3 separate regions of the Homo sapiens genome follow, and all the other regions are linked to region 1. Evidence: promoter capture Hi-C in 16 types of primary human blood cells and fetal thymus (Javierre and others, 2016). All regions are on one chromosome and are shown on one strand. Each heading gives the region's core, a stretch centred on a gene start or on the middle of the fragment in contact. The rest is flanking DNA. Distances are from core to core; before and after follow the strand shown.

Region 1 (3,340 bases), core at 8-2,507:
ACACCGACGCGCTCATCTGCTGGAGCCCGGTGAGGGCAGCGCGCGGGCGCGGGGCCCGTGGGGACCGGGAGGGAGCAGGGCCGCGGCGGACGGCGCGGGAGGGCTGCGGGGAGGGGCCCTGCCGCACTTCAGCTTACGCGCGGTGAGCCTGCCCTGCCCCCGCCAGAGAAGGGCGGCGGGTCCCGAGCCTGCTCAGACCCAGAGCCTTAAGTTGGGAAAGCGGCTACGAGACCCACACTCGGTTCAACCCCTGCCCCAGCGAAGTTTCCCTGGGATGGGGAGAATGGGGCGTCTCTTGTATTGGGCTTCTGCTAACTGTTGGGCGGTTGCGGAAGTGTCCGCGCTTAGGGCAAGCACCCGGCTTCGCCAGCGGACGCTATGCCCCAGAGGACATCGGCGTCCCCAGGGGACAGCCTACGGGGTGCTGGGTCGGCAACTATTAGGAGAAAGTCAGGACTTGGCACGTGAAGTGGAGGGCGTTGCTGTAGTGGAACAGGAAAGGCAGTGGAAACAGTAAGACGTCATGAAGCTTCAGGTTGATCTCAAGCCCGTTTCCGAATCCCAAATCTGGGTTTCCCAAGAGGAGTTTTGTTTTTCATTCCTTATGGGGCATCTTTATTCGTGTTTCTGTCTTCAGTTGCCTGGCAGCAGGCTTGTTTACATGGTCCGACCCTGCAAGACCGGACAGCTCCGGTTTGCAGAAGTAAATCAGTGATTGTCTGGAGTTGGAGATCAGAATCTGCTGTTCACATCCCGGCTGTGACGTCGTGTCCGGTGAGGGGCAGAGCCACCGCCTGCGGCTGGCAAGTGATGACCTGAAGAAGGGCCACACTGGCCGAGTGGGGTGACTCTTGCTTGTAATCCCAGCACTTTGGGAGGCGGAGGCGGGTGGATCACTTGAGGCCAGGAGTTCGAGACCAGCCCGGACAATATGGCAAAACCCCAGCTCTACTAAAAATACAAAAAATTTGCCGGGCGTGGTGGTGCTTGCCTGTGGTCTTAGCTACTTGGGAGGCTGAGATAGGAGGACTCCCTGGACCTGGGAGGCAGAGGTTGCACTGAACCAAGATCCCGCCACTGCAGCCTGGCAAAGAGTGAGACCCTGTCTAAGAAAAAAAAGAAAAAAAAGAAAGGCCACTGATCATTGGGAGCTTTTGGAGGCACCGTGACCGGCAGGGTGCCACCAAGCATGTGTGGCCTCCCAGGAGCTAAGACCCCAGAGTTCTTCAGGCTCTGCTGAGTGCCTCCCATTTGCACAGCCTCTTTATGCTGTTAGGAATGAAGAAAAGTCTAAACTGAAGCTGCCCCAGGCAGGAGGCCAGGTTTTCTGCTTCTTGGGTTTACTGAGGCTCTGCTTTACCTACAGAGTGTTTGGAAATAAAGAGAAGACTGGAAATCTTTGCTCTTGTTAGAAACACTTTGTGTTTGTCCCGCTGACACCTCTGTGTTGGCCTTCCCATCCCCAGGTCCCATTAAGGCACAGTGCACCTTCCTGGAGGCTGGCTTCATTTCACCATCTCTTCATTCTAGACCTTGGATTCTTGTGCAAAGGAAATACTCCCATGTTTCTGTCTTCTTTTATCCGTCTTTTTCTTTTTTCTTTTTTTTTTTTTTAGACCGAGTCTTGCTCTGTCACCCAGGTTGGAGTGCAGTGGTGCGATCTCGGCTCACTGCGACCTCCACCTCCCGGGTTCAAGCAATTCTGCCTCAGCCTCCCGAGTAGCCAGGACTACAGGTGCGTGCTGCCACACCCGGCTGATTGTTGTATTTTTAGTAGAGACGGGGTTTCACCACATTGGACAGGCTGGTCTGGAACTCCTGACCTCAAGTTATCCACCCGCCTTGGCCTCCCAAAGTGCTGGGATTACTGGTGTGAGCCACTGCACCCAGCCCTTCTTCTTTTTCTTATTCCCCTTAATCCTCAGAAGTTAAGGGGAATAACTCCCCCATTGGGGGAGGGGCATCCGCGATTATCTGGGATATTCTAAGCTTAATCCTACTAGCGTGATCTGTCCTGTCCCGTAATCTGCTTGCTGTTTCTGCTTAAAGATTATGAGGCATGTGGGTTAGGGCCCAGTGTACCCTTTTTTGGGACCGAGGCATGTTCTGGGCAGGGCTTTTGAGCAAGGAAGGCAGGTGTGATGAGGCCCGTGGCCAGCCTCCACTCCACTCACAGGTGCACCACCTGTGGATCTGTTCTCCCTGGGGAGGGATGGGGAGCCAACTGGAATGTGAGTGTTTGGTTCCACCTGGTCAGTATGAAGTGGCAATGGTTGGTGCAGGACGTAGCACTGGGGGCGAGCATGGCAATGAGACAGAAACACTGACTTAAAACTGGAAGGAAGCCCTTCTCCAGGCCGCGCAGGGGGCTGCAGAGCTTTCCGGCGCTGGCTGCCTGGCCTGGAGAAAGGAGGTGATCATCCCATCCTGTGACTTTGAGAGCACTCACACAAGCCCTGAGGACTCCCTGTCAGCAGAGTCCCAACAGGGCACCCTCCCACAAATCTACTGCCCAGGCCCAGCTGGCTCTCGGAGGCCTTGAGAAGGCCCTGGTGCTCTTGCTCTCTGCTGCCTTCTCTGGGAGAGTCTCCTTCTGGCTCAGAGTCTTACCACCATTCTGCCAAGAAAAACCCTCCCTATTTGACACAAGAAGATGAGGCAGAATCACAGGCATGGTGACTAACTCTCAAGGCTGAATAACCTGGGGGAGACCGAGGCCCAGAAACTGGCCAGTAACTTTACTGAGCCTGGCCAGGAATGGGACCAGGTCTGGACCACCATTGCACGTCCCCTCCCTGGCCTGAGATCAGGACTCCCACTGCAGCCACTGGAGGCAGAATGCCGGGTCACTGCCCAGGAGACCCCATTGGTGGGGACTGTGGCAGCTACCCCATCCCTGTGTTGTTTGATTTCCCACCCCCCCCTCCCAAGACCCTCATTCCCATGAGCACCCCACCCACACAGGCAAGGGCCTTGAGGGGACCCAGCAAGTCGTGGAGGACAGCACAGCCTTGGAGAGGAAATGTGTCAGCCACAAGGTTATGATCCCGGGGATCCACATAAGAGCATGGGCGTGCACGTGGGTGGTCCTCCCTCAGCCAGCTTCTCAACAGCTTCTCCCAAAGGTACACCTGGATCCAGTACCACTGAGACCCAAAGACGGGGTTGGGGGACTGAATACCTGGACTGACAGGCACCTCCATAGAACTGAGACCCATGAGACCCGGGACCCGCAGCCTCCCTGCCCCGTGCCCTGGTGCCGGCCCTCAGCCCAGCTTCCTCGTCTGCATGCAGCAGCTCCTCTGTCCACCAGCAGAGGCTCTTCTAGGGCCTTGCTGGG
Region 2 (3,644 bases), core at 58-2,557, 310 kb before region 1:
CAACCCTCCGGTCCTCAGGAGAGCATGCTTGGTAGCCCTAGGCCCCTGGGTGGACGGGTGGTCCCCTCCACTGGTGTTCTCAGCCAGCTCCTCGGGCTCCAGGATGTCGTAGTGGGGGACAAGGCTCAGCTCTGAGCCCTGCAACCGGTGCTCCTGCTGCAACACTCGTTCTGCCACTTGGAGGAAGGGAAAGGACAGAAAGCCTGTCAGATTTCTGCAGGAGAGGGACGGTCGGCTGGGTCTGCCCAGCCCCACTCACCTTGCCACTGCTGGAAGGAGGCAACAGTGCCCAGGGGCCCGGGTAGGCGTTGCAGGTCCTCCAGGGGCCCCCCACCACTGCGGCGCTCATTCTCCAGGTACAACTCCAGCAACAGCAGGTCCACAGAGGCACCATCCCCCACCACACGCACCGCTCGGGCCTGGGGAACCCGGGCCAGGGACACCAAGGTCCCCTCCAGGCCCAGATTCTGGGCCTGCTCCTCCAGGACACGGACATCTGTGGGGTATGTGCAGGTCAGCTCAGGGAATCCCCCCTAGCCAGCACCTCAACCCCAACCCTGCCTCTCACCTGCCTCAGAAAGGGGCTTGGGCAACTGGACCAGAGCCCGGTCTGGCCGGGGGCTGGCCAAGGCACAGCAAGGCTGTACTGGGAGCCCCGAGGCCCGCAGCAAGGCCTGGACATGCTGCTCCAAGCGCTGGGGCGTGGTGCCAGGGGGCAGTCCTTGGAGCAGCAGGCGTGCAGGGGCTCGTGGTGGAGCTGGCCGCAGGCTCAGCTGGGCACCATGTAGTTCGTGATCTGCCTGGGCCAAGACCCTCTCGGCGTCTGTGGGCAGGGGCGGGGCAGGATGTCAGGCATTAGAATATCAGGGCACCCAGGCTGTCCCTTCAGCCAGCCCTCTCACCTGCAGGCTCTCTGAAGGTGAGGACGCCCCCACAGCCCAGTCTCTGCCAGCTCAACACAGGTCCCCCTCCAGAGCGTCGGCGGTTTTCAAAGTAGAGAGTGAGCAGCTCGTCGGGCACGGCAGGGGGCAGTCCACGGACCTCCACTGCCACCCCTGCCTCTGCCTCCGCCATTGCAACCCTGGGACGGGGCATCAGGTGGGTAGGGAAACAGCCCATTCCACCCCTCCTGCCCCTCCCCAGGCCCCTCCAAGGTGTGTCCTCAATGCTCCCCCATTATGGGTGGCCCCACATACAGCACTTACATTCCCCGTGGCCGCTAGGCAGCCTCAGGCCATGAGCTCAGCCAGGACTCCTGTGCCTGCCCCTCAGCAAGCCTAACCCTGCTGGGAGCAGGAAAACAAAAGTGAAACTGAAAGACGGAAGGAGGGAGGGAGCAGCTGGGCCCTGGGCGCTGAGGCCTGGGTACTGGGGCTCAGATGCTTCCTCTCCTGCTGCAGCCTCAACCCCCAGCTGACCAGGAGGTATTGGCCAGGCTGGACCCCTCAGGACCCTCCAGCCAACCCAGCCCAGCCCACCGGCCCTACCTGGCCCACTCCAGCCCCTGGTTGGCAGGGTAGACAGGAGTGTCCCCTGGTGGCCCTCCACTCCCCTGGCCTCCATGGCCTGAAAATGGCCAATCACCCGCCCCACTAAACCCACCAAGGGGCCTGAGTCACTGCCCCTCACTCAGGATCTCCAAGCCTCTGTGTCCATGACACCCTCTGCACACAAAGTGCTGGGTCTCCAGGCCCGCCCCCGGCCAAGGCTGGCCTTCAACGCCCCCAGCAACCTTCTCAACCCTGCTCCTGGTCCCTCACACCTGCCAGGTGCTGAGCATGGGCGGTTCCCCACCCTTGGTCTCCAAGAATGTGCATTGCAGCACAGCCTTCCTCCCGCCTCAGGTCTTGCCTGCCCATTCCTGCAGCTTTCTGTCCTGCCTGCACCTCCCCATCTCACACCATCATTGGCATCGTCACAAGTAACCTCAGAAGGTGACAAGGTAATGGCTCCACTGCATTCCTTGCTGCCGCTAATCCTCACCACAGAAAGGGAAACGGAGGTGCAGACAGGCCCATAGCAGCACCAGGCCTCAAACCTGGGCGGTGCCTTCAGAGTCCACACTCCCACTCGCCACAGATCTCCCACATCACCCAAGCTCCGTTTGCTTCCAGCCTTTCAAAGAGCTGTGGCCACTACCACTCTCCATCTCCTACTTCCCACTCACCCCTCAGCCCACCAAAACCCAGCCCCACCCCTGCTGTTCCTCCCTCCAGGGAGCTGAGGACCCTGGCCAGCCTGCACTCCTAGCCCTGCACATGCCACACCTCTGCTGCCCCGACCCTGGTCCCAGCCTCCAGCATCTCTCGCTAGGTAGCTAGGCTAACCTCTTAACTAGTCTCTGTCTGCCACTCCCATGGTGGGTCCTCAACAGAGGTGTCAGGGTGAGCCTTGTAAAATGACACCAGCAGCTGCTACAGCTCCCAGCATCAGCAACAGTAGAAACCAAAGTCCTGGGGGCCGGGCGCAGTGGCTCATGCCTGTAATCCCAGCACTTTGGGAGACTGAGGCAGGTGGATCACGAGGTCAGGAGTTTGAGATCAGCCTGGCCAACATGGTAAAACCCTGTCTCTACTAAAAATATAAAAATTAGCCGGGCATGGTGGCAGGTGCCTATAATCTCAGCTACTCAGGAGGCTGAGTCAGGAGAATAGCTTGAACCTGGGAGGTGGAGGTTGCAGTGAGCTGAGATCGTGCCACTGCACTCCAACCAAGGTGATAGAGTGAGACTCTGTCTAAAAAAAAAACAAAAACCCAAAGTCCTTTTGAGGACCTGCCCCCTGCCCAGCTGCACCTGACCAGACCTCAGTCCCTTCTCTGGCCCCATGCCCCCTGCACACCCTGATGCTCAGAGGGCTCCAGGCTCTCAGCTCTTCCTGCAGAGCTACAGGCCACTCCTGCCTCAGTAGCCTGGGACTGGCCCTTCCCTCTGCTTGGCCCTACCTTCCCCACAAACCCCCATGGCCACCCCTCTGGCATGATCTCCCTTACTCTGCCTTTTTTTTTTTTTTTTCTGAGACGGAGTTTCGCCCTTTCACCCAGGCTGGAGTGAAGTGCCGTGATCTCGGCTCACTGCAACGTCCACCCACTGGGTTCAAGGGATTCTCCTGCCTAAGCCTCCCAAGTAGCTGGGATTACAGGCACGCACCACCATGCCCAGCTAATTTTTGTATTTTTAGCAGAGACAGGGTTTCACCCTATTGGGCAGACTGGTCTCAAACTCCTGACCTCAGATGATCCACCTGCCTCAGCCTCCCAAAGTGCTGGGATTACTGGTGCCAGCCACCATACCCAGCTATTTTATTTTTATTTACTTATTTATTTATTTTTTGAGACAGAGTCACACTCTGTTACGCAGGCTGGAGTGCGGTGGCACGATCTCAGCTCACTGTAACCTCTGCCTCCCAGGTTCAAGCCATTCTCCTGCCTCAGCCCCCCCAATAGCTGGGATTACAGGTGCACACCACCACGCCCAGCTAATTTTTTTTTGTATTTTTAGTAGAGACGGGGTTTCACCGTGTTAGCCAGGATGGTCTCCATCTCCTGACCTTGTGATCCACCCGCCTCGGCCTCCCAAAGTGCTGGGATTACAGGCGTAAGCCACCGCGCCCAGCAAGCATTTTATTTTTCTTAAAGGTCTCTCA
Region 3 (3,493 bases), core at 46-2,545, 460 kb before region 1:
TTACATCCTTTCTCTCTGGAGTGCCCCTCAAAGGTCACTTACTCCTGTGGCTTCAAGAGAAAGGACATAGTAGAAAGAGTGGAGTTAGCCAGTCCTGTGAATCACACACTGGGCTGCCCTCGCAAGCTGGGTATCTTGTGTAAATGCCTCTCTCCCCCTAGTAACTGGTTTCTGCCTCAGTGGGACATGGGACCAGCCCGCCCGCTGGGGGCCTGGCAATGGCAGTCTAAGGACACTCCCTGGTCCTGCCAGTCCAGCCTTCAGCCATTTGCCCAAGCTGTCTTCTCAAACAGACCTTATCCCATCCCGCTGGGTGTGGGCTGGGGGAAGGGTGACAAGTAATACAGGGGTAAACTGCGGCTGAGAAAGGTCCAAAAGGGGATTAGGTCCTATAAGCTAAGTGGTGAGAAGGAAAGACCAGACTTCATCGTGCATGTGTTGTGTGCATGGGTGTTCTCCCTCTACGTTAATAACGCCTGCCCTGCCCGGGGAAGTGGGCACTGAGCAGAGCAGGGGGCGACTCACTCCTCTGGATGCCCACGCAGCTCCCTAGGGCGCCCAGCAAATGGCACCCTGGGTGGGAACTGGCTTCTGGTGCGCACTAGACCTCCAACTGCCTGTCTGGTTCCCCACTGCGTCCCCAGATCCTCCCGCAGAGCTGGGGACAATGCGATTTCTCAAAACACGTAGGATGAGAGCGCACGTCCTTCCTTTCCACGTGGAGACAAGAGAATGGAGATAACCAGATCCCTCTCCAGCACCGGAGAACGAATTCACAGCTGCAGGCGTAGTGAGCCAAGGCCGCCCCATGCTCTGAGCTGCAGGCCCCTTTCTACAGGTCCCGTCCCCTTCTGATCCCATCAACCCGAAGGCCCACGCGTCACCCCCAGAACCCCGCTTCCGTCGTGACCACGGCGCACACCCCCGTCGGCAAAGGGAGGACGACGACCCCCGCTTGCCGGACCTAGCGGACAGGAACGCAACCCCGCCAGGCTCGCCCGCAAGGGCCACACGCCGCGCCCAGGCCCCCGCCCCGCCCCGCCGGAAGCTGGGGTCCGCAGGCCGGAAGCTGAGGCCGCGAGCCGGCCGCCGGCGCGCGCCCGCCCCGCCCCCGCCTCACGCGACCCGGGGACACGAGGGAGTCCGCGCGGGACCTGGGAAGACCGCCGCGTTCTTGGGAGGCCCTCCGCGCCCAGGCTGGGTCGACGACCCGGCCCCGCAAGCCGAGGGCCGCCCGCGCTCATGGGGGGGCTCACTTACGAGAGCTATGGTCGCCGTCGCCATCTTGCGTCCGTCGCGGCCTCCGCGCGCGCCTCCCACTCTTGCTCCTTCCGCTGTCTCGCGCGATCTGGGTGCCGGTGCACGGAACTCTCGCGAGGAAGGAGGTAAGAACGCGCTTCCGGGGCGGGGAGGAACGGTAAACGCCCCCGGGAGGGGCGACGGAAGGGGCGTGCTCTTGGCCGGGCGAGGGGCGTGGCCCGCGCACCTCGGGCGTCTAGGGGCGTGCGCCGCGGGACTCGAGTCGGGCGTATCTCTCCGCGTGGCCGACGCGGGCGTGCGTAGTACCCTTCGCCGCCCGTCGCCCTTGCGGCCACTGCTACGCTTCTCTTCTCTGCCTTTTTTGGAGAAAACGCTGTCGCGTGCGTCGTCCAGAGGCTCTCCCCCAGGAGGCAGGCGAAAGAGCGGGGCCCTCCTGGGCTGGAGGAGTCTCGGGTGATGAAAGGCCCGCGTGTTTCAGGCTGACGTCGTGAGATGCGTCGTCCCCGCGTCGCGACATCCCTGGGACCGGGAGGCCCCGTTCAATTGGCAGCTTTTTCTCCTTCCAGGGAACCGATGACCCTAGGTTGGCTGACATCAGTCGCTAGACCCGCAGCCCGCAGGCCCCGTTAGTCCCTGAACTGGCTTTCATGGCCCAAGGTGTCTGTCAGTACTGCTGGGAAAGCTGCCTGTCCTGGACATTTGCCATCTGCTGCACCCAGTCCCGAGACCCCAACTCGGTCATCCGAAGAAGCCACATCTGTAAGCTCAGGCACCTTCAGCTGCCTAAGGCCACAAGGCATCCCGGGCAGGCCTCCTTTCAACCCTGGGAACATTTAGAATTTAATACAGACACTTCTACTTAAATAGGGCAGAATATTCCCCGCCTCCCTCCTGAAACCTTCCAAAATTATAGGAAAGGGGTTTTATAAAGACAAACCCTGCAAGGGCAAAGAGCTGGGATATTGCAGAGCTTAAGAAAGGTGGACAGCGAGAGCTACTCCAGCCCACTTGGCTATGGAGGCCAGTGTCTGAGGGTCGTGGGTGAAAGCACAGCTACAGAAAGGAAACCCCAGACCTCTGTCCCTACCCACCGGGGCTGGCAGGCACTGCAGTGTCTGAGACGTGAGCTCCAGGAGAGGAGCTCTGAGGCCCTGCTCAAGCAAGGCCCTGTCTGAAAGCCTGGGAGTAAGTGAGACTCTGGGTCCTACCCCTGCCTCCACCCCTGGGCTGGGTCTGACCACCCGCATGCCATCAGGCTTCTCAGAGAAGAGGGCTCCTCTCTGCAGCAGCTCCTAGCTCAAAAGAAAAGACTGGCAGGGCACCTAGGGGTAGAGTGTTGCCCAGTAGAATGGCCCAGCCAGATCCCTGGCCTCGAAGCTCACCAGGTCATAAGCCCCAGCCACTAAAAGCATCTCACTCTTCAATGCAGCTGGACAGCCCAGGATCACCAGACACCTGAGAAAGAAGAAAAGGGACTCAGAAGAAACAGAGACGATAAAGGAAGCCGAAGAAAAATGAAAACTAAAATGCCATTCTCAGTCAATAAAAAGGAACTGGGGGCTATAGAGAAAGAAACCTCGGGATGAGAAAGAGCTCTTAGAAATAAAACATGAGGGGAAAGTGAGCAATTCAATAGGCTTTTAAGATGAAGTCTTCCAGAATGTATAATGACAGAACCAGATAGCTGGAAAACAGAATAGCAGTAACACAGGTGGGTGCTCTTAGGGCTAGCCTGGCACACAAGGCCTCCACAATGGAGGGGGTGGATGGGAGGTGGGGGGCTGGTCTGCCACCACCACCAGGGGAAGCCACAGGCACCACCCTCTGGGGACAGCTTCCCTTGGCAATAATGTGCACGCAGGATGCATGGTGCCCAGGACTGTTCTTACACACATTCATTCATGGGATCCTCACAACCCAGTGCTATGCAATGGATACAGCTGTTACCCCATTTTTACTGATGGGCAACATCACAAGGCAGGGAGCAGCAGTAGAATGGCTCCAGAGCCTGTGTTCTTGCCACCACCATGACTGCATCTCAAAAGAGAAGTCCAGGTCAGGCACAGTGGCTCATGCCTGCCTTCCCAGCACTTCAGGAGGCTGAGGCAGGAGTATCACTTGGGCCCAGGGGTTCAAGACCAGCTTGGGCAATATAGTGAGGCCACGTCTCTACAAAAAGTAATTTTAAAAAACCAGCTGGGCATGGTGGCACACGCCTGTAGTCCTAGCTACT

The links. Contacts are between HindIII fragments. The CHiCAGO score rates a contact against its expected background, and 5 or more counts as called.
Region 2: a contact is called between the fragment with the promoter of PARP10 here and a fragment that was not itself captured in region 1, in 1 of 17 cell types (monocytes). The highest score is 8.6, in monocytes.
Region 3: the fragment with the promoter of PUF60 here is called in contact with a fragment that was not itself captured in region 1 in 5 of 17 cell types (monocytes, M0 macrophages, non-activated CD4 T cells and 2 more); the score reaches 11.6 in monocytes.

What each region holds. Positions count from the first base shown.
Region 1 is chr8:144,291,846-144,295,185 of GRCh38, forward strand. It overlaps HSF1 (heat shock transcription factor 1), which reads left to right. Exons shown (of 13, transcript NM_005526.4): 1 at 1-29. Among named protein-coding and RNA genes, the nearest start is that of HSF1, 1.9 kb to the left of the region's middle. RefSeq lists a silencer at 1-106 and enhancers at 238-894, 497-556. The HindIII fragment of the contact is 1,460 bases long and covers 528-1,987 here.
Region 2 is chr8:143,985,153-143,988,796 of GRCh38, forward strand. It overlaps PARP10 (poly(ADP-ribose) polymerase family member 10), which reads right to left and starts at 1,308. Exons shown (of 11, transcript NM_032789.5): 1 at 1,206-1,308; 2 at 903-1,081; 3 at 569-823; 4 at 260-496; 5 at 1-176. The coding sequence starts at 1,207. RefSeq lists enhancers at 971-1,410, 1,081-1,984. The HindIII fragment of the contact is 24,851 bases long and covers 1-3,644 here.
Region 3 is chr8:143,828,020-143,831,512 of GRCh38, forward strand. PUF60 (poly(U) binding splicing factor 60) reads right to left here and starts at 1,296. Exons shown (of 12, transcript NM_078480.3): 1 at 1,261-1,296. The coding sequence starts at 1,284. It overlaps LOC107986985 (a long non-coding RNA gene), which reads left to right and starts at 1,261. Exons shown (of 3, transcript XR_001746138.2): 1 at 1,261-1,385; 2 at 1,827-2,019; 3 at 2,690-3,493. It also overlaps a transcript of NRBP2 not described here. RefSeq lists a silencer at 1,014-1,583 and enhancers at 1,368-2,067, 1,388-2,587. The HindIII fragment of the contact is 7,973 bases long and covers 1-3,493 here.